Linked DNA regions of Homo sapiens: regions 1, 2, 4, 5, 6 and 7 are each linked to region 3. Evidence: promoter capture Hi-C in 16 types of primary human blood cells and fetal thymus (Javierre and others, 2016). All regions are on one chromosome and are shown on one strand. Each heading gives the region's core, a stretch centred on a gene start or on the middle of the fragment in contact. The rest is flanking DNA. Distances are from core to core; before and after follow the strand shown.

The links. The method cuts DNA at HindIII sites, captures the fragments that hold promoters and counts their contacts. A CHiCAGO score of 5 or more calls a contact.
Region 1: a contact is called between a fragment that was not itself captured here and the fragment with the promoter of KATNAL1 in region 3, in 1 of 17 cell types (naive B cells). The highest score is 5.4, in naive B cells.
Region 2: a contact is called between a fragment that was not itself captured here and the fragment with the promoter of KATNAL1 in region 3, in 7 of 17 cell types (naive CD4 T cells, non-activated CD4 T cells, total CD4 T cells and 4 more). The highest score is 9.0, in naive CD4 T cells.
Region 4: a contact is called between a fragment that was not itself captured here and the fragment with the promoter of KATNAL1 in region 3, in 4 of 17 cell types (naive CD4 T cells, fetal thymus, naive CD8 T cells and 1 more). The highest score is 6.8, in naive CD4 T cells.
Region 5: a fragment that was not itself captured here is called in contact with the fragment with the promoter of KATNAL1 in region 3 in 3 of 17 cell types (naive CD4 T cells, fetal thymus and naive CD8 T cells); the score reaches 7.5 in naive CD4 T cells.
Region 6: a contact is called between a fragment that was not itself captured here and the fragment with the promoter of KATNAL1 in region 3, in 3 of 17 cell types (naive CD4 T cells, naive B cells and non-activated CD4 T cells). The highest score is 6.8, in naive CD4 T cells.
Region 7: a fragment that was not itself captured here is called in contact with the fragment with the promoter of KATNAL1 in region 3 in 8 of 17 cell types (naive CD4 T cells, fetal thymus, total CD4 T cells and 5 more); the score reaches 9.6 in naive CD4 T cells.

The regions. Positions count from the first base shown.
Region 1 is chr13:30,483,232-30,485,931 of GRCh38, reverse strand. It overlaps a transcript of HMGB1 not described here. Among named protein-coding and RNA genes, the nearest start is that of HMGB1, 19 kb to the right of the region's middle. The HindIII fragment of the contact is 4,231 bases long and covers 1-2,700 here.
Region 2 is chr13:30,557,853-30,560,552 of GRCh38, reverse strand. It overlaps a transcript of HMGB1 not described here. Among named protein-coding and RNA genes, the nearest start is that of USPL1, 59 kb to the left of the region's middle. The HindIII fragment of the contact is 2,172 bases long and covers 198-2,369 here.
Region 3 is chr13:30,306,270-30,308,969 of GRCh38, reverse strand. KATNAL1 (katanin catalytic subunit A1 like 1) reads left to right here and starts at 1,419. Exons shown (of 11, transcript NM_032116.5): 1 at 1,419-1,639. RefSeq lists silencers at 1,415-1,644, 1,675-1,784. The HindIII fragment of the contact is 2,852 bases long and covers 729-2,700 here.
Region 4 is chr13:30,152,160-30,154,859 of GRCh38, reverse strand. LINC00384 (long intergenic non-protein coding RNA 384) reads left to right here and starts at 1,786. Exons shown (of 2, transcript NR_138041.1): 1 at 1,786-1,826. LINC00385 (long intergenic non-protein coding RNA 385) reads right to left here and starts at 1,098. Exons shown (of 2, transcript NR_187533.1): 1 at 1-1,098. RefSeq lists an enhancer at 402-1,601. The HindIII fragment of the contact is 1,198 bases long and covers 785-1,982 here.
Region 5 is chr13:30,115,300-30,117,999 of GRCh38, reverse strand. No RefSeq gene overlaps it. Among named protein-coding and RNA genes, the nearest start is that of LINC00365, 7.8 kb to the right of the region's middle. The HindIII fragment of the contact is 1,707 bases long and covers 583-2,289 here.
Region 6 is chr13:30,524,241-30,526,954 of GRCh38, reverse strand. It overlaps a transcript of HMGB1 not described here. Among named protein-coding and RNA genes, the nearest start is that of HMGB1, 60 kb to the right of the region's middle. The HindIII fragment of the contact is 4,367 bases long and covers 1-2,714 here.
Region 7 is chr13:30,132,313-30,135,012 of GRCh38, reverse strand. No RefSeq gene overlaps it. Among named protein-coding and RNA genes, the nearest start is that of LINC00384, 19 kb to the left of the region's middle. The HindIII fragment of the contact is 7,366 bases long and covers 1-2,700 here.

The DNA of each region.
Region 1 (2,700 bases), core at 6-2,505, 180 kb before region 3:
TTCTCTAGATCCAATTTCTTTCATCTAAGACATAGGGATGCTGGATTTGATTATAACTGTGTTCTAAAATTCCATAAATCTTCCTTAAACTACTACTTACTAGTCTAATGAACAGCAAAGAGTATTTAAAATACTATTGTAAGATACTGTAATATTTTCCCCATAAGCGTCCCTAAGTTACTTTGGTCAAACTTTAAGGAATTCCACTATTTCTAGTCTTGTAGGTTCACCCTACCTGTGCTTTTCATGACTTATCTTCCTCATGCTCCCGCTTTTCCTTTGATGTTAGTGATTGCAGATCTGCTGTCTTTTCTTCTCTTTATCTACTTTTATTTATAAGTCTCAGCATGCACTTGATTATTTTTGTTGCCCATCTCTAGAGAGACCCTCGCTCTAAAAAAAGTCATAGGTACTCAAGGCAGGACACTGGTGTTTTCCGTGTTTTCCGGTGACACCACACAGTTTGGTGGCTTTGTGATGGCTGCGGCATGCTGAGCTGGTGCCCTTTGGGGGCTGCCCCCAGTGTCTCCCAAGTTGCCTTCCTATGTTATAAGTGGGAGTTAGGGTCTCTCATCTTAAAAGTACATTTGAAATGTTTTCCTGCTGGGCACAGTGGTTCACACCTGTAATCCCAGCACTTTGGGAGGCCAATATGGGTGGATTCCTTGAGGTCAGGAGTTTGAGACCAGCCTGACCAACATGGTGAAACCCTTCTCTACTAAAAATACAAAAATTAACTGGGCGTGGTGGCTCATACCTGTAGTCCCAGCTACTTGGGAGGCTGAGGCAGGAGAACCACTTGAACCCGGGAGGTGGGGATTGCAGTAAGCCGAGATTGCACTATGGCACTCCAGCCTGGGCAACAGAGTGAGACTCTGTCTCAAAAAAAAAAAAAAAGAAAAAGAAAAAAAGAAATGTTTTCCATGAAATGCTTCACTCTTTGCTATATTAATACTTATCTCCCATTTTTTGCACATTTACCCAGCTGTGAGAGGTCCTTTGGCTGTTTATCCCCTTGGCTCTTTGTCTCCTGGAAGAAGAGTAATCTATAGAATAAAAGATTGCACTGTGTATTTCCACTTCCATGTCATCTTCCCTTCTCTTCTCTTCTCTTCCCTTCTCTTTTCTTCCCTTCTCTTCTTCTCTCCTCTCCTCTCCTCTCCTCTTTCCTCTTCCTCCTACTCCTCCTCCTTCTTTTCTCTCTCTCTCTTTCTCTCTTTCTTTTTTTGAGACAGGGTCTCACAATGTTTCCTAGGCTAGTTTTGAACTCCTGGGCTCAAGCAGTCCTCCTGCCTTGGCCTCCCAAAGTGCTGGGATTACAGGCGTGAACCACTGCGCCTGGCCCATTTTTTCTTAATGGTGAAAACAAAAAACAAAACAATGTAATAAGCTCTTATACCCATCCCAGTCCCTGAGACAGAGTAGCGGTTGTTGGGGGATGGAGGGTGAGGAACGTGGTGAAGATCCTACTTCAGGAATGGCAAAATAGCATCCTGCTTCACTCAGTTTTAGTAGCAGGTATAGAGTAGTTGGTAGCAAAGCTGGTAATAGACTCTTATTCCTTCATTACTTTCCCCCACTTTATCATTTTAGACATTTAATTATGAATTGAGTGGCTCCTGGAGGTTAGATGCTGGGGAAAATGGGGAAGAAAGCACACCCTGCCCTGCAGGGGCTTACAGAGGTGAAGGTCACAGACGCCTGGGTAGTACAGACCCTGGCCCTGGAGACATTGCCAAGGAGGGGCAGCTCAGGCTGGGATGGGGGGTACCAAGGGACTGCTTCCCCCACAGCCAAGCTCTGAATGGGATGGTCAGGGGCAGCTTCTCAGAGCTGAAAGACAAGCATGAGTTGGACAGGTGTAAGGTTATCCTGCTGGAAAGACATCAAGGCCTGAGAGAGCATGACCATCCCAGGACCTCCCAGTGGCTCAGGATGGGAGCTTCAGCATGGGCAGGACAGAGAAGCAGGGCCTGACCATGAGTGGCCTAGGATGCTCTGCTAAGAGCTGAACATTCGGCTGGGTGCAGTAGCTCAAACCTATAATCCCAGCACTTTGAGAGGCTGAGGCAGGAGGATTGCTTCAGCCCAAGAGTTTGAGACCAGCCTGGGCAACATGGTGAGACACCATCTCTACAAAAAATTTAAAAATTAGTTGGGTGTGGTGGTGCGTGTCTGTGGCCCCAACTACTCAGGAGGCTGAGGAGGGAGGATCGCTTGAGTCCAGGAGGCAGAGGCTGCAGTGAGCCCAGATGATGTCACTGCACTCCAGCCTGGTGACAAAGGGAGACCCTGACTCAAAAAAAAAAAAAAAGAAATTTGCACGTTCTCTTGTGGGCAACAGGGAGTCATGCAGGAATTATTTAAGCAGAGGAACATCACGATCATAATGTCATAATTTACCTTAGAAACGTCACTCGGAGTTTCCTAACACTAAGGCCCAGGGTTGGAGTAGAGTGAGCAGGAGAAGGTGGCCTCGGAAATGAAGGGAAGTGACAGGGATCAGAGACACACATTAAAGAGGTAGGATCCCTAGGACTGGAGGGTTTGCTGGTTGCGGGGAGTGAGGGAAAGGAGGAGTTAATGATGATACTCAGGTTTCTGGGCCGGGCAACTGAGTGAGAGGACCCCCAGAGGAAGTTTTAATGATGAGCACAAAGGTGATTCTTTATGGCCGTGCCAGGCTTCCAAGCCCTGGTG
Region 2 (2,700 bases), core at 34-2,533, 250 kb before region 3:
GAGGAAAAACAGCCCCTCGACTCCACATTTCCTTCTAGCTACTGACCTAATTCTCCTAACCTTCAGATTTGAGCTTCTTGAAAGAGTAGCTTATAATGGGGTATCCCTACTTCCTTATGCCTGCTTGATGACTCAACCCACTGCAGTTAGCTTCTGCTCCCTGATGGAATTGTTCTCGCTAAGGCTACCGATAAGCTTCATATTTGCCAAAACCAAAGGCTGATTTTTAACCTTTATCCTACTTTGTGCCTTCGTGGCATTAGACACTGCTGACCACCCCACCATGGAACTTTTTTCCTGCTTTGACTTACATGACCCTACTTTTTCCTGGTGCTTCTGTCTTTGTAGCTTTTTCCCTTGCAGCCTCTTTGGGGGTGTCCTCTTTTCTTATTCATTCATTCAACAAATGTTTGTGAAGCTGGATCCTGGAGCTGCAGTGGTAGGTGGGATATAATCTCTACCCTCATTGCTACAGGATACAAGAGAAACAATCAAATAATTACACAAATCACTGTAAATAGTTACACACACATTCTGGTAAATGCTGGGAGGGGGTGCCTTGGGGGTCTCAATGGTGAGAAACACGTGACATCTGAGTCATGTGAAGGCATCATCCATCTCACTGTACTACCTTTCCTGCTTTTTGGGAATATGAGATTTTGGTGAATGAATGCATATTCATCTTAGTCATACTCTTAATTGTTTAATAATTGTCAGTCACATACCCTTTCACAATCTGCTGTTTCCAAGTGTAGATATTTTTATCCTTTTAATATAAATTCTTCTCCTCAGTCCCTTGTTAGTAGTTATGGAGAGACTTGGGCTGAAATACATTTTTGTAAATCTTGAGTTCAGTTATGCCTTAGTTGAGCAGCAGCAGCTAGAACTTCCCAGAATTCCAGGTGTCCATCTATTTGCAGCTGAATTCCATCCGCTTTCTTAAAAACTGATTTCCCTATGTGGCTATCTAAATTTAATCTCATGTGTTAGAGCAGGCAGCCTACTACACGCACATCTCTGAACACTACTTTGCAATATGCCATATTGCTGAAGAGGTGTGGACAGAGTACACAGTTGGTTTGAGTCTGGCTTCCATCACTTCATTCTTTTGACAGGTTATTTAAATTCACTGCCCAAGGAAGCAAAACTAGTAAACCAGCAATGAAACTCGGGCCATCTTACCGGGATTGGGAGTTCACCCTGTAAAATAAGCCATGGTCTTGTAAATGACCATTGTCAATGGTGAGGAAAGGTTGTCCCATAGTGTGCTTCCCTAGCCACTCTAGAAGCACAGGAAGCACTGGCCTTGGAGTGAGGCCAGTGCCTAACGTACCTTGGTAAGGAATGATCTAAGGCAGTGCTTCTCAACAGGGGCAATTTTTCCTCCACCCGCACCCCCCACCCCAGGTACATTTGGCAATGTAAGAAACAGACTCACCTATTTCTAGAGAAGTCCTCAAAAGATATTTTTAAAAATTAAAAGTAACTATAGATTCAGAGCTTTCTGGAAAAGTGTACAGATCATTTATTCATTCAACACATTCTGAACACCTACTGTGAGTCACGAGCCAGGGTTAACCTTCAACAAGTTTGGTCCTTGCCCTCAAGAAGATTATAATCCATCTGCATTGGTGGTCCTCAAATTTTACCGTGCATCAGAATCCCTTGGAGGCTTGTGAAAAACTCATTTCTCGGCCCTACTCCCAGAGTTTCTGATTCAGTGGGTCTGGGGTGGGGCCCAAGAATTTGCATTTCTAACAAGTTCAGGATCACACTTGAAAACTATTGCTCTAGGGGAATAAGGAAAGAAAGCTCCTGGGGTTTTGAGGATCAACATTTGCAGTATCTGGGGGACACTTGAATGGCTTGATTCTATCTGTCAGAATGTCTTTTTGGAAAAAGGAAGGTTTCATAGCCCATGGCTGTTAGAGACAGACTTGGTGTTTCACTAACAACTAGGATTATTGCTAAAAGCCCGGACATTTTAATGCCTATTTCTCTAAAGCCAGCAAGGTTGAACATTTTTTCATCTTAAAAAAAAAATCTTTTTTTACATGACTTATGTTTTCATTTCAGTTATTTTTTTAAAAAATTTTCTGCTGAGGTCTTGGTGAGCAAATGGTTTTAAACTCCACACTTTTGGCTAAGAATGAGATGTAAGATATAGACACTAGTTCTTAAAATTCAGCACTGTTCACTTTTGCCAAGTGAATATAAACTGAATTGCATCAAATTACAGAGAACAGTGTATCTAGAATATTGTTTTATTTTATCATTTTTACCTTTCCATTGAAAGATGAAATCAGGCGATCAAAGTAGCAAGGGTTAAGTTTCTAGACTACCACAAATTAGAATTGACAAGAAAAGCTTTCTGATCCATATTTGCCTGGGAAGGCTCCAAGGGAAACACAAGAAGCAGCAACTCAAATCCTGTTCTCTTCATTATCCTTTTTTTTTTAATAGCTCTTGCATAGGCTCGGTTTTTGGAAGTTGTATGCTGCTAATTTAGGTATATATGTCATTACAATTTTAGCATGGATCCTTCTCAGGCATACACAAGAGATGCCAGACATGTGAAAAAAGGAGGGAGCCAAGCACAGGAACCTCAGGGACACTGGCATAACTGTTCTAGAGTCAGAAACCACATGAACACATACCGAATTGATAGACATGAGGTTCAAGTCTATTCTGTGCCCTGTC
Region 3 (2,700 bases), core at 170-2,669:
AAACCACTTATCTGCTCCAAACCTTCTAAAGAGTTGGCTATAGAAACAACCAAAGAAAAGGGGCTGATTTCGAAATTATGTGTCAGCAGGAGTAGAGAGAGGAGAGTTGTAAGAGGTGATATGTGGAGAGGTCTAAGTGTTCAGGAAAAGCAAGAACTGAGAGCCAGAAGTGACGGTGCAATCCTTGAGAGGACATTGGCCGTGGGGAACACCACAAGGTGGATAAGGGACTCAGTCAAGTTCAAGAAAATCTCTGTGGTAGGATGACTCAGCTGGATTACAGGAGCCATTTTTGTTATTTTCAACCATAATTTTTCAGGAGATATTCATTACTAGAAAATGACAAGGTCACGAATTCACTCCCCTTCCTCTTTTTTTCTATTAAATTTCTGGGCCTCAGTTTTCCCATCTATAAAATCTAGAGATTGGGCCTAGAATATCTCTGTAGTTTCCATTAGAGTCTATAGCTCTAATAATAATAACAACACATTTTTATGTTCTCTTTTGAGGTAAATTTACATGCAGTGAAATGTACAAATCTTAAATGTCCCATTCCAAGAGTTTTGACAAGTGCATATACTTCTGTAACCGAAACTCTTAGCTATAGAATTTTTTCATCACTACAAAAAATTCTCTCAAACTCCTCCCCGACAGCCAACCACTATTCTGACTTTTATCACTATTGATTAAATAATTAATATTTAATAGCTATTGTTAAATGCTAAGCTTTGTTTTATAGAGCTTCATCAGTATTAATGCGTGTATTTCTTACAAGAGTTGCAAGATGGATATCTCCATTTTTGCAGATCAAAACGTTAAGAGGTGAGAAAGGCGCCTCTGGTCATCAGCTACCAAGCACAGGGGCAGGACGTGAACTAAGAATTCGTTTTAGAAGCCCACGCTCTTAACCTGTTTATCCTAGAGTCCACAAACGATTGCCAAGAAACAGCATAAATCCAAATTCAGTCGAAAGCAATGCCATTTGCAAATTCTAAAACCTCCTGAATAATCCTAAAGGCCATATGCATTCCATCTTATCGAAGGATTCCCTTCTATCCCCCTCCCCAGAGAATGGAGAAAGGGGGTGCGAAAGACTTCAATTCGGTTTGACTGGAGAAAAACACAGAGGTGGCGTAGGATCCACACATCCCTTGGGGGCAGACCCAGCGGCGGACGCCTGGACAGGCGGCGGGAAAGGCGCTGCGACGCCCCGGGTGCCCCCTCCTTCGACGCCACTGGCATCACCTCCGAAAGCAGCAGGCACGAAGGTGCCCTGCCACGGGGGCTGGACGCAGTGGAGGCAGGCTCATCAAGCACGACCAGAGCTCAGTCGGCCACACGTCCTCCTCAATGTCACTGTCTCCCTGCTCTCCCACCCCGCGCCGCTGCACCTCCCTCCCCCCGGCAACCTGGGCGGGAGTCCCAAGCTCCGCCCCAGAGCGGACTCACAGCCCCCGCGCTCCCTCCCGCGCTGCGCCCACCGCGCGGCCGCGGCTGCCATGGCAACACTACGCCGCCGCCGCCTTTTCACGCACGTCGCGAGCTAACGGACTCGGCGGCGGCGGCGGCGGCGGCCTGCGCCCCACCCGCACCCCATCTGGACCGCATCGCTGAATGTGCCCGGACCTGCGCCTTCTGGGTAATGAATCCGAGAGAAAGGGGCGAGGGCGAGACAGCAGGTGGTGGAGGGCTCTAGCCAACAGCCCCTCTCGGCCTCCCACTGCCGGAGACGCCAGGGCAGTGGGCTGCGGGGTTCCTCGGGCGCTGGCTCCCGTGCGGGGACGGGGAGGGGCGCGGGAGCGCCAGGCTCGCGGTGCATCATGGGAATTGTAGTTCAGCGACTCCTCGGGCTCGCGGTCTTGGTGGGGTAGCTCGGACTGGCGAACTACAAAGCCCGGCGGCCCCGACCGCCGGGAAAGACCGATAAACTTTGAGCGGACCGGGACAGAAAAAAAAATCTCTCTTTGTCTTGAGGGGGCTGTTGAGTGGTCGCGGACCTGGGCTCTGTGCGTTGGGAAAGGGAAGTGGAGGTGAGCCTCGGGCTTCCCGCCCTGTAGCTGGGCCCGCCCCAGTTGCAGCGCTCAGCCCCACCCCGGCTGGGCCACCGCCCTGCACAGTCTCAGGGATGAGCAGCCGCCCAAGCTGCAGGGCCTCGGGTCTTCGGCGCCTCTGACCCTCGCAGGTTGCTGCCTTTCGGTGCAGAACCGTATGTATGTCACACATTGGATGTGAGACCTGAGAAACCGTGTTTTAACAGGTTTTTCTCCTTTCCTGGATACGTTTATTTCTGGGTTAGTCATGTTTGTTTTAAAGTAGCTCAGAGGTGTTTGCATATTAAACCCATCAATTGGTAATTACTCAAAGGGCAGTAATGTTTAAAGGTTAAGTGTGGAAATAGATAAAAAGATGTCATTGCGATTATATGGTGGTATCTGGCATTTTTAACTTTTTGCATTTTTGAATTTTATTTCTTGAGGTTCAAGGTTGTGAAATGAGTGCTCCACCCCACCCCCCCCTTGCCAGCCTGAACACTGCCTACACATATTTTGATTAGTTCAGCTTTAAATTACTAGTAACTTTTAAAAACAGACTTTTTTAGCAGTAGGCAGCAATAATTCTTTGATTATTCCAGTGTTATTCAGAATTTCTCAGCATGTTTTCGGAAGGAAAAATACCATGTTTTAATTATTTAGTTAATTC
Region 4 (2,700 bases), core at 134-2,633, 150 kb after region 3:
AGCCTCTAGCAGACGGCCCACTGAACCGTGAGCGCGGTCCTGCTGACTGAGGGGCTCTGCGCAGCCTCACGGCCTCGCTGCGCTCTCAAGGCCGCTCGTGGTTGTGTGGAGATCACAGCAATGGGGGCGAGAGTGGACGCCGGAGTGCAGGTGGGGCTGGTGCAGACCTCCAGGTGCGGGTAACGGGGACTGGCCCGGGGTGGTGACGGGGGAGATGCAGGGAATGGGCAGACAGGAGAGATACTTGGGGCAAGAACAAACAGGACTTGCTGATGGAGTCGGTATGGGGTGGGGGTGCAATAAGGGACATTGACCCTCAGGTGTGTGGGCTTGGAAACTAGGAGCGTGACGAGATTGTGCATCTGAGAAGTTTCTCTGACTTGCCCAAGGTCACACAAGGTGTAGGTGGCAGAGCTGGGGTTGTTCTGACAACGAGGTGCGGTTCTTTCCTCTGCACAAGCCGGCTTCCTGGGATCGTGGCTCTTCTGGGGAGAGGGACCTTGGAGAGCGCCTGCCTTCGGGCAGGAGAATCTCCACTGGACGAGAGAGAATCTGGAGGTCAGGTGGTTTTCTGGAACGCACATAGCCAGGGAGGGGGAAGCAGGCAGGGGCTGCATCTGGCTGCCTGGGGTGGGCAGGCACTCTCTGTTCCATGCCACACAGAGAGTCCCCAAGGCCTTTCTGAAAAGCTCTTCCCAGCCCTTCCGTGATAAACAACCTGCTGTCCCCGGCTCCGGGCGGGAAGAATCTAAGGGGAGACGCTCCTCCGTTAGTCACGCAAGCTTGCCTGGGTGGTTAGCACAATGAAGCCGTCAAGCCACTAGGCAGGAAGGGCGGGAGCTGGCGTTTCAAGCACCGCTGCCCACCCGAGGGATGTGCAGGGTAGCAACAGCCCACGCCGGCGGTGGGGAGCAGCCTGGTCACCCACAGGAGCTTGTGAGGCCCGAGGAGTGTCCGTGTGGCAAGGCCCCTGCCCCAGCTTTTCATTTATGAAACAGAGCGTGACCTCCAGAACTCACTGGGGTTCTGTATGACGGAGCTCCCCGCGTTGGGCAAGCAGGGTGACCCCGTCCTCCATCATGGCTCTCTCACTGTGACGCCGACCCTCGGTCCCCACGCTCGGCTTGCAGTAGAACGTTTCCTCTCTCCAGGTTGTCATGACAATTTTCACTGAGAAGCTGTTTCTGTAGAGGGAGCAAAAAAAGAAACAGGGGGAAATGCTTATTAAAGCCAGGCCTAGTGAGTCTGAGGATTTCAGTGGTGTCTTTACATTCTCAGTGGCTTCTGAAGAAAAAGTGGAATTTCTGTCCTCTACACCAGCTGGCTGCTAGGAACTTTGCTGTTATATAGAGGCAATGCATGAAGTCCAGAATCCATTACATTATACTAATTATAGTAATAATGATAATAACAATTAAATGTGAGCCTTCAAAGGCAGGTCCCCTCCGGCAGAATCCATTAAGGAGAATGGGTGTAATTATTCGGGCAGTGGAGGCACAGTGCAATTTTAGGGGTGGTCAGTGTTATCCTGATAACAATCCCATTCTCTCCTCCTTCGTCACTGGCCATCTGGCCTTCCAGTGTCTTCTCCCCAGATCTCAACCATCTGTCCATCAATGTCTCACTAATTATTGCAAACAATTCTGTGTAAAATGAGAAGAAAGTAAAGGTTAACTTTCCCATTTTACAGATTAGTCATTGTCTTCCTGAACAAACAGTGAGGAAACCCAGGGGAGGTGACCCCTCAGTGAATGTATCCTACAGAAGAGCCGGATCTGGAACTCTGCTTGAGCAAGCCAGTGTAAAAATTACAACAGCTTACTGAGGTTTCTATTTTTCCTTATTTTTCTCTCTGCACTAAACAAACACACATTCATTGTGGTAAATCTGAAATACATAGAAAAGCCTAAAAGAAAAATCACCCCAAATCTTAATGTCTGGGATTAAACCTAATACCGAGGAATACCTTGTCCACCCAAGCTTGGTGGCTGATGTGAGTCAGGTCAGGAGGGATTGGGAGGTACAGTTCTGTCTTCACGCCCCCCTCCTGGAAGGCTGCAGACTTCTGGAGCTGCATCCATACCCATACAGCTCTAGAACCTCCGCCTGTGTGGGGTTGCGTGTCAAACACTGGAGCTTCTGGAGCTGCCTGGGCTTTGGCTCATTAGAACTCAGGGATGAAGTAGAAACTGTAGGTCCCTGCTGAAGAGCATCCAGTCTTTCCATTCATCCGTTGAGCATGCACCAAGGCATTGAGAGGATAGAGATGATGTTGTGAGGATACAGATAGAGATATAAAGAAGCTGTAGTCCTTATCTTTAAGCAGCTTGCAGACTAACTTGGGAAACAGATGCTTGAATGAACTAGTAAAACTGTGCTCAGCAATGCGCTTCATTTTACGGATGAGCAGAGGGAGGCAGAAATGCAACGTGGTTGTTAGGGTCTGAGTGCAGCAAGTCCCCATTTCAAGATCAAATTTCAGGTGATAGACAACCTCCAAGGTACCCCCCAATGACCCTTGATTTTTGCACCTCATATGGTCTCTTCCCACGCTGCATCAGGGTTGGTCTGTGAGGCCAGCTGATGTGGCAGAGCTGATGATATGTGACTTCCAAGGCTGGGCAGGAAAGGCATTGAGGCTTCCACCTTGTTTTGTGGATCACTTGTTCAGAGGGAAGTCAGCCAAAATATTCTGTGAAT
Region 5 (2,700 bases), core at 187-2,686, 190 kb after region 3:
TGGTTGGGGGTGATTGGATCATGGGGGCAGTTTCCCCCATGCTGTTCTTGTGATTGTGAGGGAGTTCTCACGAGATCTGGTTTAATAGTGACAGTTTCCTCTGCGTGTGCTATCTCTCTCGCCTGCCACCATGTAAGAAGTGCCCTGCTTCCCCTTCACCTTCCACCATGATTGTAAGTTTCCTGAGGCCTCTCCAGCCTTGTAGAACCGTGTGTCAATTAAACCTCTTCTGTTTACAAATTACCCAGTCTCAGGTATTCTTTATAGCAGTGTGAAAATGGACTAATACATTTTCTCAGACCTATCAAACAGGTGGGATTGCTGTCAACTTAATTAAATTCATAGTTTTAAAATTTGGTGAGTATTTGTTTAGTCTTATCAGTGATCATGGAGATGTTTAGTGGGCCTGACAGTGCAGAACCCTGTGGCACATCACCGGAAGCCTCTCTCTGGGTTCCATTGAACCTAGTCCCTTCCCCTTTTGTCCTATCTGACTCTTTTCATAGTCTCCATTGCTGATTTATGCAGGGCGTCTTGCACTGGATAGAAGTTGGGAGTTACGATTTTGTATTTTTTCAAGCTTTATTTCTTATATTCCAAGCCCTATTTTAAATTCATTCTTTTAGATCTACTCTGACTCTTTTAAACCTAGTTAAATCTGACACCGCAGCGAAGATAAGATTAGCGTCGTGGTTCTCAAACTTCAGAGTGCATTGGAATCACCTGAGGGTTTGCTAAAACACGGGTGCCAGGCCCCATCTTCAGAGTTTCAGATTCAGTAGTTCTGGGGCAAAACCTGAGAATTTGTATTCCTAAGTCCCCAGGTGCTGCTGCTGCTGTTGGTCTGAGAACCACACTTTGAGAACCACTACTATAAAATATCCTTCCATATGTCTTTATATAAACAAAGACGCTAGGACTTTTACCCCTTCCACTAAGAATGTTTGGCCACAAGAGCTCTTTAATATTTGCTAAATAATAATGCAAATACTGCTTGCTGTCTTTGGTGTTAGGTGTTTAGTTTGGTTTGGCCCAATTAGATCAGAAAAGTTATTCTTTCACCAACATATGGGTAGCAAACTATCTTCTTTACGTAATTCTTTGTCTTCAAATTATTCCATGTCGTCTCTAATTAGAAAGCACTTGTAAACACTTGATGACTTGAATTAAAAGGCTTAACACAAAGCCTAAAGTGTTGCCTATGCTGTCTCTCATCCATATTTTGTAGATTTAAGATCACTCCCTATCTGCACTTGTGAGCCATCTCTGCTCCCTGGATCCATGTCAACCTGTTTCTGTTCCTCCTAACTGCCCCCTATCCCCCAGCTGCCACTGGGAAGCATAATGGCAGGGCCGTGGGCTGGCTCCCTCCAGAAGCTGTTGCTCTGACAACTGAGTGATGGGAAGAAAGCCTGGGCCATCCAAGCTGGTGGCTTCAGGAAGGGTGGAGGACAGTCTCCACGCTGCTGCTGCCGAGTGCTGATGAAGAGACTTCCTCTGAGGCCGGCTCGGCCCTGAGCCTCCCAGGAGACCCACCATCTGTCTTAGCTTCTCTGCCTCTCCCGGTTTTACAAGAGGTGGGAAACCCAGGCCCAGAGGGACACAACCCAACCTTGCTGATTTGGTCTACAAAGGATCTGTCAATTTACTTTGCAAAGTAAGTCATTGGTATTTACTTTCTCCTCCTCCTCCTTCTTTTGCCGTCCATTCAGAAATGTCTGAATGATCACTGCTGCGTCAGCCTCTGTGAAATTCAACTCTGTACACAATCAACAGAACAGATGTCCACACAGAGTAAGTTACAAGAGGGAGTCCATATCACAAAGCTAACTGCCTGACTTAGATGGCTGAAATTCCCAGGCATTTCCACATTTATACATTGTATTCGGGGAATAAAACAAAAGGCTGCTGCTAAGGTCTGAATGTTTGTGTCCTCTCAAAATTCACGTTAAAACTGAACTCCCAAGGTGATGGCATTAGCAGGCAGGGCCTTTGGGAAGTGATTAGGTCACCCTGATGAACGGGATTAGTGCCCTTATAGAAGAGATCCCAGGGAACGCTCTTCCTCCTTCTCCCAGGTAAGGACACAGCTAGGAGGCACCATCTATGAACCGGAGAGCAGGCTTTCCCCAGACACTGAATCAGCTGGCACCTTGATCTGGGACTTCCCAGCCCCAAGAACTGTGAGAAATCAGTTTCTATTGTTTATAAGCTACCAGTCTAGGGTATTTTGCTATAGCAGCCTGACTATAGCAGCTGGATTAGGATTGCCATTTAGAGTTATAAGCTTTTTCAGATGTTCATATAAAGACATTTTACTTATCATTTGTTTTCATTAAATTAAGTAAATAAAAATTTTTAAAGTTACTCAAACTGTGTTCTATGGTGCTTTAATTTAACTTTCTTATTCATTACCCTACTTATTCATTCCTTATTCCAGATAAAAGCCTTTGTGAAGGTCAGTGTTATGTATTTAATATATTTAAGAAAACGTTGCATTTATAACTCATTCATTCCTTGCCAAAGTATCCGTGGTTCCAGGAGAAAGAGCCAACGCGGCTATATTTGCCCCGCAGACAAGTAAGTGTTTCGTTGCCATTGGGTTCACGACATGCAGGTGCATAACATTCTCTGCCTGCACTTTCCGGGCCTTACTTACCATTCTTCCTTTCTATCGCATCTCCTTTCTTTCATTCCTTA
Region 6 (2,714 bases), core at 115-2,614, 220 kb before region 3:
GCGGTTAGGAATGAGCAGACATTCCTAATGGAGCACGGACCTCAGGCTGATTGTGATCTGAGACAAAACAGTGCCAAGTGCTGCTAAATCATTAGAACACTTGTGGATAACAGCAAGAGAAATAAAGACACACAGACTCTCTCACAGGAAGGCTCTGTGGTATGGAGAGGAGCTTTGGCGACAGAGGGCAGAGGCCCCTTTCTGGTTGTCTTGGGACAAGTCATTTAGTGATGGTGGAGCTAGGGCTCGTGGTGGCAGGCTTGCTGTCTCCCCATATCAAGGTCTTGCTGTGTGCCAAGCACTGTCAGGTTCCTCGTAGACGTCATGTCCCAATAGCCCTATGAGGCAGGCACTGTGATTATAGCAATTTGATTTTAATTTTTTTTAGGTTATCTGGTGAGGTTGCAGATCTCTCTGGATGAAGAATCTCAGACTCAGAGGTGAAATGATATGCAGGCAGAACCAGTCTCACTGTTCTCTGTCTTAATGTCTCTCAGCCTTCATTTATCATCTGCAAAATGGGAATAAAAAATACAATCTCATAGAGTTAGAGAAATAATGAATAATTCACAAGTCTGTGGTATATAATATGTGTTTGGGCCAGGCGTAGTGGCTTGCGCCTATAAACCCAGCACTTTGGGAGGCCGAGGCAGGCGCATCACTTGAGGTCAGGAGTTTGAGACCAGCCTGGCCAACATGGTGAAACCCCATCTCTACTAAAAATAGAAAAATGAGCCAGACATGGTGGTGCATGCCTGTAATCCCAGCTACTCAGGAGACTGAGGCGTGAGAATCACTTGAACCTGGAAGGTGGTGGTTGCATTGAGCCAATATCATGCTACTGCCTTCCAGCCTGGGCATCAGAGCAAGACCCTGTCTCAAAAAAAAGAAATAAAAGTTGTTAGATGTGGGTTATTTAATGTTGCATATTGCCTTCCAATTTTAAAAAAAATTGCCAGGCTGAGCACAGTGGCTCATGCCTATAATCCCAACACTTTGGGAGGCCAAAGCGGACAGATCGCTTGAGCTCAGAAGCTCCAGACCAGCCTGGGCAACATGACGAAACCCCCATTATATGGTTAGGCTTTGTGTCCCCCCACAATCTCATCTTGAATTGTAATCCCCACCTGTCAAGGGAGAGACCAGATGGAGGTAATTGAATCACAGGGGCCATTTCCCCATGCTGTTCTTATGGTAGCGAGTGAGTTCCCGTGAGACCTGATGGTTTTTTTTTTTATGTTAATAATGGAGTTTAATATTTTGTTTCTGTGCAATCTTATGAAATACAACTTGTTTTATAAGAATTTTCAACAAAGTATTAGTTTCCTTTTGCAAAAAGTTATTAGTTTGCCATTTAGTAGCTTTTAAGTATGTTGAATTTTTTTACATAATTAAGAACCTCAATATTCTTGTTATCAAAAACATTTAGTGAGTACCTCCATGTGCAAAACAACTGGGCTAAAGAGTCATAGGACAGAGCCCTACTGTCAAGGATCTTTGAGTCTGTCTTGAGAGATACTTTATTCTTTCATCTCTTCCTTTGCTGTGGTTCACATCTGATGTCACAAAAACCAGTGGGGGTTGGGAGTACGCCAAAGAACAAGAATACTGAGACATTTTGCTGCAATATTTTGTGCATCCCTAAAGGCCATTTCTAAATAACAACAATGGTGATGACAACAAAATTACACCTGTCATTTATCAGGAACATACAATGTCAAAGCACTGTGCTGAATGATCATTTATCTTTAAATGATCAGATGCTTTCAATGATCATCCAGTTCTTCCACCTACTCTCTGAGGTTTCTATTCTTATTTTTGCCATTTTATACATGGAGTCTGAGCTTAGAGAGATTAAGAAACTTCTATTATTTTAATAGTTAGCAGAGTTCGGATTTAAACTCAATCCTGTTAGACTTCAAAGCCATATTTGTAACCATTTTACTATGCCGATTTGTTCTGTCTGGCCTACAAATAAGAATGTATTTGTTTGTTTAATACTTATTTGTTGGATATCTACTATGTGATAAAAAAACAACGCATATATAACCACAGGCAAGGTTCCAATTAAGAAATAAATCTTAGGAGGGGCCTGTGGTGAAATACAATGTGACCAAATCTTTATATATCTTTTCAAGTGTATAAACTGCAGATGGTTACAGACATAAATATTGGTAACTTCATATACCAGTTTCAGTTAGCCAAGTCTGTTGAAGAATTTCACCAAATTATTATTATTATTATTATTATTATTTATTTTATTTTATTTTTGAGACAGAGTCTTGCTCTTGTCACCCAGGCTGGAGTGCAATGGCACGATCTTGGTTCACTGCAACCTCTGCCTCCTGGGTTCAAATGATTCTCCTGCCTCAGCCTCCCAAGTAGCTGGGATTACAGGCACCTGATGGTGGTTTTATAAGTGTTTGGTAGTTCCTCCTGCATTCATTCCCTCTCCTGCCGCCTTGTAAAGAAGGTGCCTTGCTTCCCCTTCACCGTCCACCACGATTGTAAGTTTCCTGAAGTCTTCCTAGCCGTGCTCAACTGTGAGTCGATTAAACCTCTTTCCACCCAGTCTCAGGCAGTTCTTCTTTTTTTTCTTTTTTTTTTTTTTTTTTTTAATATACTTTAAGCTCTGGGATACATGTGCAGAACGTGCAGGTTTTATTAATAGGTATACATGTGCTATGGTGGTTTGCTGCACCCATCAACCCATC
Region 7 (2,700 bases), core at 23-2,522, 170 kb after region 3:
AGTGAGGGCTTGGTCTTATACCCCGCTGTTCCTGGCATATAGTAGGTGTTCAATTAAACATCTGTTAGGGGGTGGAGTTGCTGGCAGGGAACACGTTGTCCAGGACCTTTCTTTTTGCAGAGGACTGAATAAGCTCATAAGAGATGGCTTTGTGTCTTTCTCAGGAGCTGCCCTAAGGCTTTGTAACCCTCCACATTAGGACTTTCTTTCTGCTCTGTCAGGCTCATATTTGTTTTCACTGAATCATGGTTTTACAGCCAAACCAGCACAGCATAGCAGTTAAGGCTAGGGCAGGGGTTTGGCTAGAGCAGGGGTTTGGATGACAGTTAAATCTGGGTTTAGAGCCAGGTTCTGCAACTTGCTAGCTTTGCAAAGCTCCGAAAGTTACTTCACCTCTTAGAGCCTCTGTCTTCTTGGCTGTAAAGTGGGGTGTCTTACAGAGTTGTGACAATTCAATAAAGTGATAAAAACAAAGCCATTAGCACAGTGCATGGTAGCCAGAAGGGCCACAAAATATTTCTCCACTATTATGAGATCTGAAGATGGTGGCAGAGGGCGCAGTGCCTGGCTTTCTGGAGATCAGTGGATGTCTTTATGGCCACTGCTTTAAATCCTCTGTGGGTGACCTTTCCCCTGTTGTTCGTCTCTGCTCACATGGATGAAGCTGAGGCCCCCAGAGGAACCCTGGAAGCCACAGAGCTGGCAGGACCTAGGGCCCCTGCCCCTTGCCCCTGCTGACGGAAGGAGTCACTCACTGAACGAGCTGCCCCATCTGGCAGGAGTGTTGTCTGTCGGGAGGCCGTGTGTCCCTGGTTACAATGCAGTCACTGTCCAGTGGCCTGTCACCGGCCAGGACAAAGCTAGCCTGTTTTGGTCATTAGCTGTTGCTCTTTCAAAATAAAGAGAAGCCACAACTGAGTCTTTACCGAAGTTATTTTTAGATTTCTGGCTTCATAACAACCCTGGAATTTCTTATTTTCTCCTACTCTTCCTTTTATTTTGTTTTATTTTTTTTAAAAGCAGACAAGTCAACCTAGAACATTGAATAAATAACCCACCAGAGACAGCACGGAACGATCCGAGGCCACAAAACACATCACTTGTCCCTGGGTGATCTAAGGAGGTAAACGAACCTCTTTGGTTACAAGAACCTCAGCTGTCCAGAGACACCTGCCGGACACAGACTCCACTATGGGGCTCCCAGCTCTGGCCCGGTGGCTAGACGGGGCGTCAGGACAGGGCCACCACCTCCTGGGCTGGCACTGGAGGCGTGTTTCCAGCAGGTGTGTTTCCAGCGGTTGCTTGCTTTTTGTCCTGGGCCTTATCAACAGGGTGGAGTGAAAGGGAGCTTCCAGGGGAGGGCTCTCAAAGAAACACGCCTGCGCGGCCCTGCGGCTGGGGCGTCCCAGGCAGGCAGCACAGGCGGTCCTCACTGAGCTCTGTCTTCTGCTCCAGAAGGAGGATCAGCCCCAGAACCACAGGGAGATGCACTTTTACCAGGACCCATGGGCTCCCTCCCGGCAAGGACCAATAAAGTGATTAAATGAAAAGAAGTAAAACCCTCGGCTCAGGCAGCCAGCAGAGGCTGGGCCTTCAGGGTCACTAAGGATACGTGCAAAACCGCCTGCCCACAGCGCTGTGGCCTGCCTCGGTTGACAGTCACGCATAAGCCGGCCTGCCTTAGGTGGCCGAGGAAGGGAAGAAGTGGAATCATGGAAAACATCCTCCCAGTGGACAAGGGCGTCAAATGGCTGGTCCTCCAGGACAGGAGAGAAGAGAGTCTAAACCAAGAACCCCAGCCCGCTGGCTCTGGGGAAAGAGGGTGGCTGGAGAGACTGCCCCGGCGGCCTAGGAGGAGTGATCCCCGGGACCTTCTCCCAGCACGGCCCACCCAGTGCAGGGACGGCAGCGCCACCAACTCTCTGGGCTCTCGGTCCTGCCTCCGGGTCCCCGTCGCTATGGCCTGGACCTCTGCCCCCACCCAACATGGAGCCCCTTAAGAGCAGGGACGGGTCTCACTCCTCTCTGCCGTCCTCACCCCGGCTCTACGTCCAACCCTCAGTGAGTGCCCCCCCAAGTACTGAATAATGAATAAACGCATGTGCACCGAGGACGTGCGAGGCGTTCGTTTCTCCACCAGCCCTTCCTGGCCCTCTCTGCAGAGGCAAAGGCTGAGAGGAGCTTCCTTGCCAGTTCTGGGGGCGGGTCCCTGGTCAGGCGCGTTTCATCTCAGCACACAGCAGCCCAAGCGAGGCTCTCTCTCAAACAAGGAGAAGCCGCCCCCTGCTGGCCGCAGCCGATAGTGTCACACAAGGCAAGCAGGAGCCCTCTCAAAGGAGCCGGCTGCCAGCTTGGTGCTTACAATGGGCTGGCTGTGCAGGAAGAATGAGTTCAAGAGAGCTATTGTACAACGAGGTAACTAGAGTTAATAACAAGATATTATATCCTTAAAAGTTGCTAGGAGAGTAGATTTTAAGTCTTCTCATTGCAAAAATGGTGTGTGAGATAATGCATAATTAGCTCGATTTAGCCAGTCCACAAGGTACACATATTTCAAAACATTACATTGTACACGATAAATATAAACAATTTATATTTGTCGATTAAAAATAAATTTAAAAACACAGTTTTAAAAAGCTGAGATTTTCCTCCCCTTCTATTTTACTCATTTCTTTCCTATACCCAAACTCCTGCCATTTC